4 separate regions of the Homo sapiens genome follow, and regions 1, 2 and 3 are each linked to region 4. The links are contacts of gene promoters, found by promoter capture Hi-C in blood cells and fetal thymus (Javierre and others, 2016). All regions are on one chromosome and are shown on one strand. The core of a region is centred on a gene start or on the middle of the fragment in contact, and the rest is flanking DNA. Distances in the headings are between cores, read along the strand shown.

Region 1 (2,757 bases), core at 171-2,670, 81 kb before region 4:
TGCATGGCAATAACAAACATCATAATCTACCAGTAAAATTAAGAGAAGTTTCTTAATAGGGGACAACTTCTGTTTCAGGAAAATGTGGACAACACTAATAAAAAGTAGGGAGAAGAATATACTATTTAAACTTTATTACATGTTTGGTTCTGAATTAGCTGCTTTATATATTACCATATTTTGAGGTAGATATTATCATCCACTTTTACTGATGAAGACAGTGAGACATTAACCACTTCCCCACAGTTACAGACCTACCAAGGAGTACAACAGGAATTCCAACTCAGAGCATAATGCTCTTCCAATAATACTACCTAGCTCCTTACGAAAATTAAATATATTCTAAAGCCTTCAGTACTCTTTTCTTTCTTTTTCAAACAAAGTCATGAAAATCTTGCCACAAAGTGCCAAGCATATTGGAGTATGGGGAGCCTCAAGCATATTGTTGGCCAGAACAACCTTAAGGGGAGAGATGTAAAATTCAAGTAGACACATGAATACATGTTCTGGCACTAAGCTTCCTAAATTGTACAATGCAAAATTACATACTCTGTGGCATAAAGTATGTCATCAAAACTATGACAGTTCTATAATGTCTTTTCGTTAAACCCTCCAAATCCATAACCAGAATTAAGCAGATTTGTAGCTTAAGTTGAAATCAAATCAGATGAAGTCAAGTCTAGACAAGATCAAAGAATAAAAATGATGCTAAAATTGAGACAAACATCTAGGGCAATGCGCAATATTTTGGGGTCATGGAACTCTCTAAGAATATAGTAAGAGCTACACGCCCTCTCCTGAAAATAAACAATTACATGTACCCAACAATTTCAGGATCCCCTCAACTTAACTCATTTATCTAGGGGCATTACAAAGGTTTAAGTCACGTGACATAATCTATCTTCCTCTGGGATTGTGAACTGTGGGTTTCTTGTAGAACTTAAGCTGCTTAGTGGTCTAGAGATATTTAAGAAGTTTTTTTTAAATATACAACTTTTCTATCATGATGAAAGTGTGTATATTCACATCCCAAATTCAATATATAAGCCTATCCTAAAGAATTGCCTAAATATTATATATATGTGTGTGTGTGTGTGTGTGTGTGTGTATATATACACACACACCCACCCTACATTTAGTGCAAGGACTGGACAAATGAAACATGGTTCCTACCCTCAGTGAGCTTATACTCTAGTTAGCAAGACATGTCTGAAAGATGTAGAAAACTAAAAGTCTAAAACATTAGATTTATAATTTAATTCAACAATAGAGGAATTTCACTTATTATAATACCTAACAGCTCAAGTGGAGAATTTCAAAGAATACCGTATTAATCTTCTTCCAAGTACATTCAAGGAATTAACTCTGGTTTATAAAACACAAACTAAGTCTCAACTTCTGAGCCATTTCTTTCTTTATACAGAATCTTTTCACAGCACTCCAGCTATCAACTAATTTTAATTTATATATGAAGTAATTTATGTATGAGATGCTTTATAGTACCAATTTTTCTAAGTCAAAAATTTAATATTAATCTTTTAAAACTGGCCATGCTATATATATATATATAGCATAATATTGTTAAACACTCCCTAAAATGTAGCATTTTATTTTGCTATGATTTTTAACAAGTGGTGTTCTTTCTTTTGATTGTCATCCTGTTTTAATCTTTAATCTTCACTTAAACTTTGATGGGATAAACAATATAAAAGTCAAAAAGGACGGCATACTATCCTTCTCCAAAATGGATTGTAAGAGAAAATTTCTAGACACTCCTTAACTCAGTGTGATAGTGAAATTTTTAAGTCAAAGATGTCTTCGATAAAACTTTTTTACCAAAAAAAAGAGAAAGAGAGAGAGAAAAATTAAAACATTGCCCAAAAATTTCAACAGCTTTCTATTCCTTTACCTGGCCAGGAAACATGAACTCGCTACTTGATCAACTTCTATGCCTTATCTCAGACTGACTCTCTACTCCCTCTCTAATCCATCTCTACCTACCTCCTGCTCCAAACAAATTTGAACCGCTTGCTATTCCTCAAATTCTCTATTTTTAAACTTCTGCTTCATATTTTATATTATTCACTCTCCCCAAAATGCCCTTATCTTCATTTCCCTTTAAAAACTCCATTCATTCTTTAGGTTCATGTCAAAAGCTACCTTTTCCATAAAATCTTCATAGAGCCCCACATATGATCTCCATGCTACTTTATTAGTGTTTCATGTAATATAGCTTATTCTCTTTTTAAATATAGCTATTTCTGTATTTATTGTAATAATAATAACAGTAACAGCAGACACAAGAGTTTTGATTCAAAGCTTACTGTATGCTCTAAATTAACATGCATTATTTCCATTTTATAGATGAGGAAACTGAGGCTTTGACAGATTAACTTATTTGCCCAGGGTCAAGCCATATCCATGTATGCCTGATTCTAAAGAATTGAGTGAACTCTTAGCTACAACACTGCTTTTAGACACTGGTGACAAAATCATTCTTAAAGGTTATACAGTCTTCTTTACTTCTGAATTTCTATAATGTGTAGAACAGTAGCTTTACAATAGCAGAAATTCAATAAATAATTTATTGAACTAAACTACAGTTAGAAAGTCCAAGTGTTATTACAATTCATTCTAATAGGGTATCCAAATACTTCCATTCTAACAGAATATCACATATTCCTAAAAGTTTACACTAATTTGTACCATTAATTAAGGATTTATGATTAAACATTTTAATGCTATTATTAAACTAAT
Region 2 (2,762 bases), core at 250-2,749, 100 kb before region 4:
CAGAAAATACATTATATAGAATACCAAGACTGGCAATTTTGAATTCTTTAAGGGTTAAAGAAGGTCAAGCTTATTGAAAGTTTAGTTAAGGTAAAAACTATGCTTAATATTTAAAGTAGCACAATTGAGGTGATTCCATTTTACAAGTCAAAACTGTATATGCAAAAAAATATAATACTGACTTTTATTTCTAGGTGAAAAAAAATCTTGGCTGGGCACAGTGGCTCATGCCTGTAATCCCAGCACTTTGAGAGGCCGAGGCAGGAGGATTGCTTGAGCTCAGGAGTTTAAGAATTCAAGACCAGCCTGGACAATACAGCAAGACCCCATCTCTAAATATCTCTCTCTCTCTAACTACATATACACATACACAAATATCTCTAAATATATATATACACACATACATATATAAATGTACACACATATATTATATTATACATACATACGCACACACACACACACACACACATGCACTGGACATGGTGGCACCCGCCTGTTACCCCATCTCCTTGAGAGGCTGAGGCAGGAGGAATGTTTGATCTATGATTGTGCCACTGAACCCCAGTCTGTGTGACAGGGCAAGACCCTGTCTCTAAAAGAGGAGATGAACACATCAAGGCTGCTGTGGGAAAATGCTGTGGTCTGGTATGAACTGAAAAAATCACTGATCTGCTCCCACCAAAAAAAAAAAAGAAAAAAATTAAATACACATCTATCTTAAATGCCTCACAATCCTTCAAATAAAGGCATGAAGGTATGGCATTTTCCCCTTCCAGACATAAAAGAGTCTATTAAAATATACAACATGACAGACACTACATATAGTTAGGCACCTTTTCTTTTAACCTTTAAACAGTCAACCCCTTCCTAAGGTTGAATTTACTTTTGGCGCAGGCAAGCATGGTTGAGTATCCCTGGTTTCCACTGAAGTCCTCTGTGGGTATGTGGGCATGTTTATAAATCATATTTTGTAATAAAAGCAAAGTATATTTATATACATGGTGATTTCATCATCGAGAGCTGCCAATTCAGACTGTGTATAATATGCCCTTATAAAGATGTTTCTATAATTCTTACTAATCTATATTCATAGAAGAATAGTTTTGGCCAGGAGGGGTGGCTCATGCGTGTAATCCCAGCACTTTGGGAGGCCAAGGTGGGCAGATCACAAGGTCAGGAGTTCAAGACCAGCCTGACCAACATGGTAAAACCCTGTCTCTACTAAAAATACAAAAATTAGCCAGGCGTGGTGACAGGCACCTGTAATCCCAGCTACTCAGGAGGCTGAGGCAGGAGAATCACTTGAACCCAGGAGGCGGAGGTTGCAGTGAGCCAAGGTCGCGCCATTGCACTCCAGCCTGGGCGACAGAGTGAGACTCTGTTCCAAAAAAAAAAAAAAAATAGCTTCAAGTGTCCCACCCGGCAAAAGATTACAGAATATAAAATAACTACTAGGTATGTTTTATATACTTCTGTGAAATAAATGTAAACAGAAATCTACACTGTCCAGTTAAATTACATAATCTCTCTACCCACATTATCTTTAGTCAAAAATAATTTTAAATTATTTATTGTGATTTCTGCCATAATTATGAAACTACTATGAGGGTACTGCAAACCAAATTACACAACTGCATTTTTTTAAGTAAACCAAACAGTAAACACCGACTAGACCGTGGAATGTAAATAATTTAAAATTGTGGACCAGCTGATAAAGATTCAACTAGAAATATATGTAATGATGAATGTTTATCAACTTTACTCTCATGGAGGTGACTAGCAGAAAGAACTGAAATGGATTACCCAGTCAAGAGCCTAGAGAAGAGCTGCCACAGTACAACAAGACTACACATGTAAGAGATTTGATCTGGATTTAAAAAAATAAGTCAAATTTATTTTTAACTGTCAGCTACCTAATATTTCTCAAATCTCAATTACTTTCTAAAAGATAAAATCCTTTACTCCAAATGAACCTTTAAATTTAAGACTTAGAAAAGAGCAGAAAAATATCCAAATAGCAGAAAGCAAGACATAAAAATAGGTATTTAGAAGTGACAGACCAAATACTTAGAATATTAAATTTAAGAATATGGCCATATTTCAATGGAAATTTATTGTTTGATATAAAATTCCTTTAATAATGTTCACTATTCTTAAACACTATCCTTTCAAATTCCAAAGTAGATTCTTTCAAAATTTTCTAAAGTTGTATTAGCCCTTTGAAATGGGCAATTTAATGTAATACACATTTTGATGAACAAGACAAAGTCCCAAATTTTCTACACTTGTATCAGCAATTTACTTTGCTTAGTTTGTATTTCCAGTACTGAGAGTTCTGAGAGTTGAGTTCTGAGAGTTGAGTTCTTTACACTTAAGTAATCTTTCCTTCAACAGTGTTTTACTGAACTACGCCAAGCATTTATTTGAGACTAAATAAGATTTTCAAATAAATTCTAATGGCCCTTAAATTCAAACACAATCTAAAAAGGACATCTATTTTAAATAATTCCCACTAAATAAAGAACGTCCTTATAAAGATTTGCAAAAGTAAAGCTGGCATGCTATTAAAGTTACTACCACCAGAGGACAGCATTGCCTTATGTGATACAAATGCATCCAAATAGACAAGAGAGAGGTTCTCAAAATACGATATACTTACAGAAGTTAGGAAGTAAATTGATGTTTTAACCTTATGGCTTATTTCTTAAGATAAAAGTAATTACCGAAACAGCTAATTTATAGTCTTAGAGATTAAGAAATCA
Region 3 (2,910 bases), core at 299-2,798, 120 kb after region 4:
ATCTAACATATCAGTCCTTACCAAAAGTATTGATTTATTAGTTTCTAATGGAGGACATTTACATCATAAAAATACTTTTTTTTCCAGCCCATAAAAATATTACACCTTATAATAACTTTGGGACTAAGTTACAGGTCTCTCTTAACTCTTTCACTGATGATATTAGAGCTAAATATATTTTACAGCATGATTGCTTATTTATTATTCATTCAAATACTAAGTTTGCTAAGGCTTCAATATAGTAAGGGAAAACAAGTTATATAACATTTATCTGGAAGAGTCTTTTTTTTTGTACTTGTCAAAAGGTGATAATATTGAATTTTTAATTAGCTATCAGTGATTAACAGTATACTCCACTCCAGAGATATTCTTTTACTTACTGTTAAGCACTCTTTTTAATATGAGGTCTGAAAAGCAAGAAAAGAGAAATATTCAAGATATCTTATGGGTGAAAAAAACAAAACTATTTGAGGTTTTTAAATTCCAAATCAGGATTGATCCACTGACTTATTTTTTGAAACTGTGTTTAAATTAATGGTAAAATGGAAAAAGAAAAATGTTGAGGTATTTCTTTGTTTTTTTTGTTTAAATTCATGCATTAATTTTGTTATAGTAAAATATTAAAGTAGCTCACCAAAGAGACAGAAAAAGAAGCAATAACATATGATTATGTAATACCGAAAGAAGAAATGAAAAAGGTAATAGCTATTATTGAGTTTTTAGTAAACTTTGTGTTTTATCACCAGTTTTAACAGTTATGTGTGAGAATTCATTACTTCGTCACTTGAGGTCAATGAGGTATAACCTGCATAATATTTTCTTTCCATGCATCATTTTACAACTTCTTATTAAGTTTATGATATTTAGGAGAAAGGAGAAAGTATAAAGCCCTATTTTGATTTTTCCCTTTCATATTAGATTCACCTCTGCTGTGGAGACCAGTCACTTGGAAGTACAGAAATACCTTTAACTGGATTACTTAAAAAGGGCAGTACAGAAATCAACCAGCACCCAGTCACAGTCGAAGGTGCTTTTACCCTTGACCCTCCAAACAGAGCCAAACAGAAGCTTGCACCTATTCCTGTGGAGCTAGCCCCAACTGTGGGAGTGTCTGTGGCTCTGCAGAGAGAAGGCATAGACTCCCAGGCAAGTAGTGGCCCTCCTTCATTCCCCTGGCTTCACTAGTCCCATGCATGATTACTTACAAAAGTTGAATTTCAGAAGAGTTACCTTCATAAGGATATATTTATTAATCTTAATTAGTGACCTTTGTTATATGATACCTCCTTTCTGAAAAGTGCTGTGACTTCTGTTATGGTTTATAAGTGATTCTACCCAGAGCCCTCTTAGCCTTTGAGACAGTCTTTTTGTGTAGTGGAAACCCACTTATGGTCTCCCCCACCCCCAACTCCAGAAAAGGAACTCCAGTGAAAGAGAACATTTTTAGACCTAGTTTCTGGGAATCTGCATTACTGATATCTTTTTGGTTAATGCAACCTGAGCCAAAATAAAATCCTTGGTTCCTTAGTGCTTTGTAGTCCTCATACTCTCTTTAGTCAGTTTTCATGACACAGATGATCATTTATTTGGCCGTGTATTTTTTTTATTGTATCTATTCCCAGAAATCAACTTTATCTTGTTCTTTCAAAAAGCTGATCTTTATGCAGGTTGTGAATTAAAGATAGAAGAACCGAAATGAGTGTTTAAAAGATACATATACATATATTTTTAGTGGGGAGTGGAATAAAGGAGAGAAGGAAAGTCATACTAGACATGTGTTTTTTCTCTTTAGGAGTATAGTTCTCCATTGTACTGCCTTGGTAGGAATAACCATTCCCGGGGACACCTATGCCTGACTTCTTTTCTCAAATATCCCTTCTTACCCATTAGGATGCATTTTGGTATTCAGCTCTGGATATCATATTTCCTCTGTTCATCTTCCTTTTTCTGGTCCTAGATGCTATAAGGAAATTTGCAAATTACGAAGAAAAATAGACTAGGAATATCCAAACTGGGAAAGGAAGCTTATATTTTTAAAAAACAATGCCAAGTTTTTTGCTTAATTATGAAGGAAAGTTCTTTGCAAATTATACTTTATTTAAAAATTGTTTTTAGTCTTTAATTGAATTAAAGACCCAGAATGAACATGAGCCAGAGCATTCAAAGAAGAAAGTTTTAACCCCCATAAAGGAGAAGACACTTACTGGGCCAAAATCACCAACAGTGTCCCCTGTTCCATCTCACAACCAGTCACCTCCAACAAAAGATGATGCAACAGAAAGTGAAGTGGAAAGTTTACAGTATGATAAGGACACCAAACCAAATCCAAAAGGTAAGGTTTTTTGTTGTTTGTTTATAGATCTTTGAGGTATTGCATTTTGCAGCCATCTAAAAAATGACTATGAGAACTTTCATGAGTTATAAGTAAAAATTGTGGGTTTGTTAAGAACCAATAAGGCTGGGCACGGTGGCTCACGCCTGTAATCCCAGCACTTTGGAAGACCGAGGCAGGTGGATCACCTGAGGTTGGGCATTCGAGACCAGCCTGACCAAGGTAGAGAAATCCCGTCTCTACTAAAAATACAAAATTAGCCAGGCGTGGTGGTGCATGCCTGTAATCCCAGCTACTCGGGAGGCTGAGGCAGGAGAATTGCTTGAACCCAGGAGGTGGAGGTTGTGGTGAGCCAAGATCGCGCCATTGCACTCCAGCCTGGGCAACAAGAGCGGAACTCCGTCTCAAAACAAAAAACAAAACAGTAATGTGTGGAAATATAAAAAATTTCAATGCAAAGTCATTGCAATCTATCTAACTTCAAAATATAATTCTCTAAATTAACAGAATTTTTTATTTTACTTGTACACTGGAAATATCCTATTCAATAGACATTAAATAATATAGTTTTTGCAAGT
Region 4 (2,705 bases), core at 155-2,654:
AAAATAAGTACATTTTTAATTCTCTAATTTAAAGTAAATATTTTAATAGAAGATTTAAAAGGAGCCACTGACCAGCCTGGGTGCTTACTACAAAAGAGTTGAAAGTAATTCACACAGTGTATCAACAGTAGCTGTCTCCCACACACACAGGCACACTCACTCTCTCCCCCATCTGAACTTTTCCTCCCTAAAACATGAGGTGGGAGAAGGGGAATGACCATGACACAGGCCTCACTACCCCCACCCCACGAGTAGACACACATCTCCCTCCTCATCCTGCTGAAAAGAAATGTGGAGGCTGTGGACCAAGAGACCCGATGCTTCTCAGTGTCACTTCCCCTGCATGTGGGATAAACAAACAAACCGGCACCATGAGAGTAACCATCAGAGTGATTTTGCTAACCTTTGACTAATGTCTTGGTTAAGTTTTGAGCTGAGTCAAAGCTCTAAGAAACAGGTAAATCCCTGTGTCCCCCCACCCAACCCCTTAAACACTCCAACGGGAAGTTTATCCCTGAGCTGAACGCTGGCCCCCGTCGCCTCCTCCCAGCCTATCCATGCCTCCTTCCTGCCTGAAGCCCCTACTCCAAAGGTAATTGTCTGGACACAGTCAAGGAGCACCGTGGGCGACACTCCCCACCTCCCAATCTCTCCTAAGGAAGCCCCCGCCGGCCCAGTTGGCCCACCTCCCTCGCCGCCCCAGTCGCGCCGCACCACTCCGGCAACTTTTGCACCCAGCCCGACCCGCCACCCGCGGCCCCCGCTGCCCCCTAGCCCTCCGCGCCCTCAGCCTCCGACCGCGGCCCCCTCCTGCCCACGCCTCCGGGCCACCCGCCATGGTCCTCGCCCACCCCTCCCCCGACACCCGCGCCTGCGGCGCCGCCCCCGCCGCACCCCACCCCACCCGCCCGGGACCCCAGCCCCACCCGGGAGGGAGGGCGCCGCGGCCGCGCCGAGGCAGCCGCCGGGCCGGGGCTGGCAGCGGAGCACCTACGCGCAGGGGGCTTTACCTCAAAGGCGCGGCCGCGAGCAGAGGGGTCGGTCCCGGGCGCGGGCGGCGCCCCCAGTCCGTCAGCGCCGGCGGGGGCAGCGGCGGCGGCACATCACACCCGCCGGCGGCCGGAGGAGGAAAGCGAGCCACGCAGGGAGCGAGCGAGCGAGCGAGCGAGGTAGGGGGGAAGGAGCGAGAGAGAGAGGTAACGCAGCGCTGCTCGGATTCGGTCCCTGCACTGCCGCTGGTGCCTCCTACCGCCGCCGCTGGCCGGAGAGTCGCCGCCCGAGCCTCTGCTGTCGCCACCGATGCAGCCCGGAATGAATGCACAGCAGCGCCTCGCTTATCCGGAGGTCAAACATCCTTCTGCCTCGGGCATCCGGATCGACGCCGGACCCGGAAGTGAACACATGGAAAAAAAATTAAAAAGGAAAGCGTCTGTTTAGCGGCGGCGGCCCCCAAGCTGCCCGCATCAGCGAAAACAGCCGAGTAGAGCCGAAGATTGCACCAACCTTCTTGGATTGGTCGGATCGCCGACCGGAAAGGAGACGGCGCGGTCATTGGCTGGCAAGGTGTATAAAGCCTAAGCCGCGCCCTATCCCCGTCTTTCTAGAGCCGTGCGTGAGGGAAAGTGGGGAGAGGCTGTGGATACGAGTGTTTCTCTGGATGAAGCAGTGGGCGGAGAAGCATAGCAAAGTCTACGCAGAGAACTGGAAGAGAACACCACCATGCTTTAGGAGAGCTACTAAGAACTGAGTGAGCAAAGAGCCTTAAGGGTACCATTGTGCCAAGTCAGGGTGCTGAGGCTTTCCCTGTTGTGCTCAGCCCGCCAGGTTCCAAAAAAATCTTAGGGCCCGGCCTAGGAGTATGACATCACTGGGTTGACATTTTTCCCCGCTTGTTTGTAACCCCAGTGCCATATCAGGGCTCCAACTGCTTAGAAATGTGAATTATGGCTCACATTTGCGTCTCATTTGCTGTTTGTAAGCTGAGGTAATCCTCTGAACTATATAGTGTGGCATTACCTGTTTTTCAAATTCACCTCCCAAAGTTCTGAGAAGCCAAACATCACCCAAGTTATCAAGTTGCAGCGCACAAACTGAAATCGGTGTTTCTGACTCACACTTAAGTCCACTCTGCCTACATAGAAAGACTGCATTCCTTTCATTTTCCCTCTTGCAGTTGCTTCCCTGGGATGGAGATAAGTCATTTTGGTAGACTTCTATGGAAATTGATCCACCATGAAGGCATGGAAACTATAATTTTTTAAAATTGTGATTCTTATGTCTCAAGTCCTTTCAAAAGTTAGGCATTAAGGTGTGCAGGAAGAAGAATCAGCCTGGTGCCATGTTTTTTAAATGTTCATTTTATCAAACCCGTTTATATTCTTAATATACTTACTGTATCAAGAAACTTGAGTCTTGTGTATCTCTATCTCTCCTGTCTACCTCTCAAAACGAAAAGACTAATGAAACAAATGCACTCCTTCATTTTCCTCCCTGCTTTGCTAGATTAACGGTATAGCTAATGTGTTACCTTTGGAAGGGTAGTTAGTATAGAAATCTGTTTTTGATTTTGGTTTGTAATACAACAGTGCCTTTTTTTTAAACCTCTCTTCTCACTTCTTCCCCAAACTGGAAGTTAAGAAGTGACTAGCATCACCAGCCTTAGAAGGGTAGTGATAAGAGCTTTGCTCCATGCTTACCACACCATC

What was found. Contacts are between HindIII fragments. The CHiCAGO score rates a contact against its expected background, and 5 or more counts as called.
Region 1: a fragment that was not itself captured here is called in contact with the fragment with the promoter of CSNK1G3 in region 4 in 1 of 17 cell types (total CD8 T cells); the score reaches 6.0 in total CD8 T cells.
Region 2: a contact is called between a fragment that was not itself captured here and the fragment with the promoter of CSNK1G3 in region 4, in 1 of 17 cell types (activated CD4 T cells). The highest score is 6.1, in activated CD4 T cells.
Region 3: a fragment that was not itself captured here is called in contact with the fragment with the promoter of CSNK1G3 in region 4 in 3 of 17 cell types (activated CD4 T cells, naive CD8 T cells and non-activated CD4 T cells); the score reaches 7.7 in activated CD4 T cells.

The regions. Positions count from the first base shown.
Region 1 is chr5:123,591,554-123,594,310 of GRCh38, reverse strand. All of the region lies in intron 10 of CSNK1G3 (casein kinase 1 gamma 3), which reads right to left. Among named protein-coding and RNA genes, the nearest start is that of CSNK1G3, 81 kb to the right of the region's middle. The HindIII fragment of the contact is 1,802 bases long and covers 520-2,321 here.
Region 2 is chr5:123,611,119-123,613,880 of GRCh38, reverse strand. The region is part of intron 13 of CSNK1G3 (casein kinase 1 gamma 3); the gene reads right to left. Among named protein-coding and RNA genes, the nearest start is that of CSNK1G3, 100 kb to the right of the region's middle. The HindIII fragment of the contact is 2,856 bases long and covers 72-2,762 here.
Region 3 is chr5:123,389,346-123,392,255 of GRCh38, reverse strand. It overlaps CEP120 (centrosomal protein 120), which reads left to right. Exons shown (of 20, transcript NM_001375405.1): 7 at 919-1,146; 8 at 2,116-2,332. Among named protein-coding and RNA genes, the nearest start is that of CEP120, 33 kb to the left of the region's middle. The HindIII fragment of the contact is 956 bases long and covers 1,071-2,026 here.
Region 4 is chr5:123,510,876-123,513,580 of GRCh38, reverse strand. CSNK1G3 (casein kinase 1 gamma 3) reads right to left here and starts at 1,404. Exons shown (of 14, transcript NM_001364140.2): 1 at 1,011-1,404. RefSeq lists enhancers at 83-232, 1,263-1,472, 1,633-1,692 and silencers at 753-822, 993-1,082. The HindIII fragment of the contact is 13,359 bases long and covers 1-2,705 here.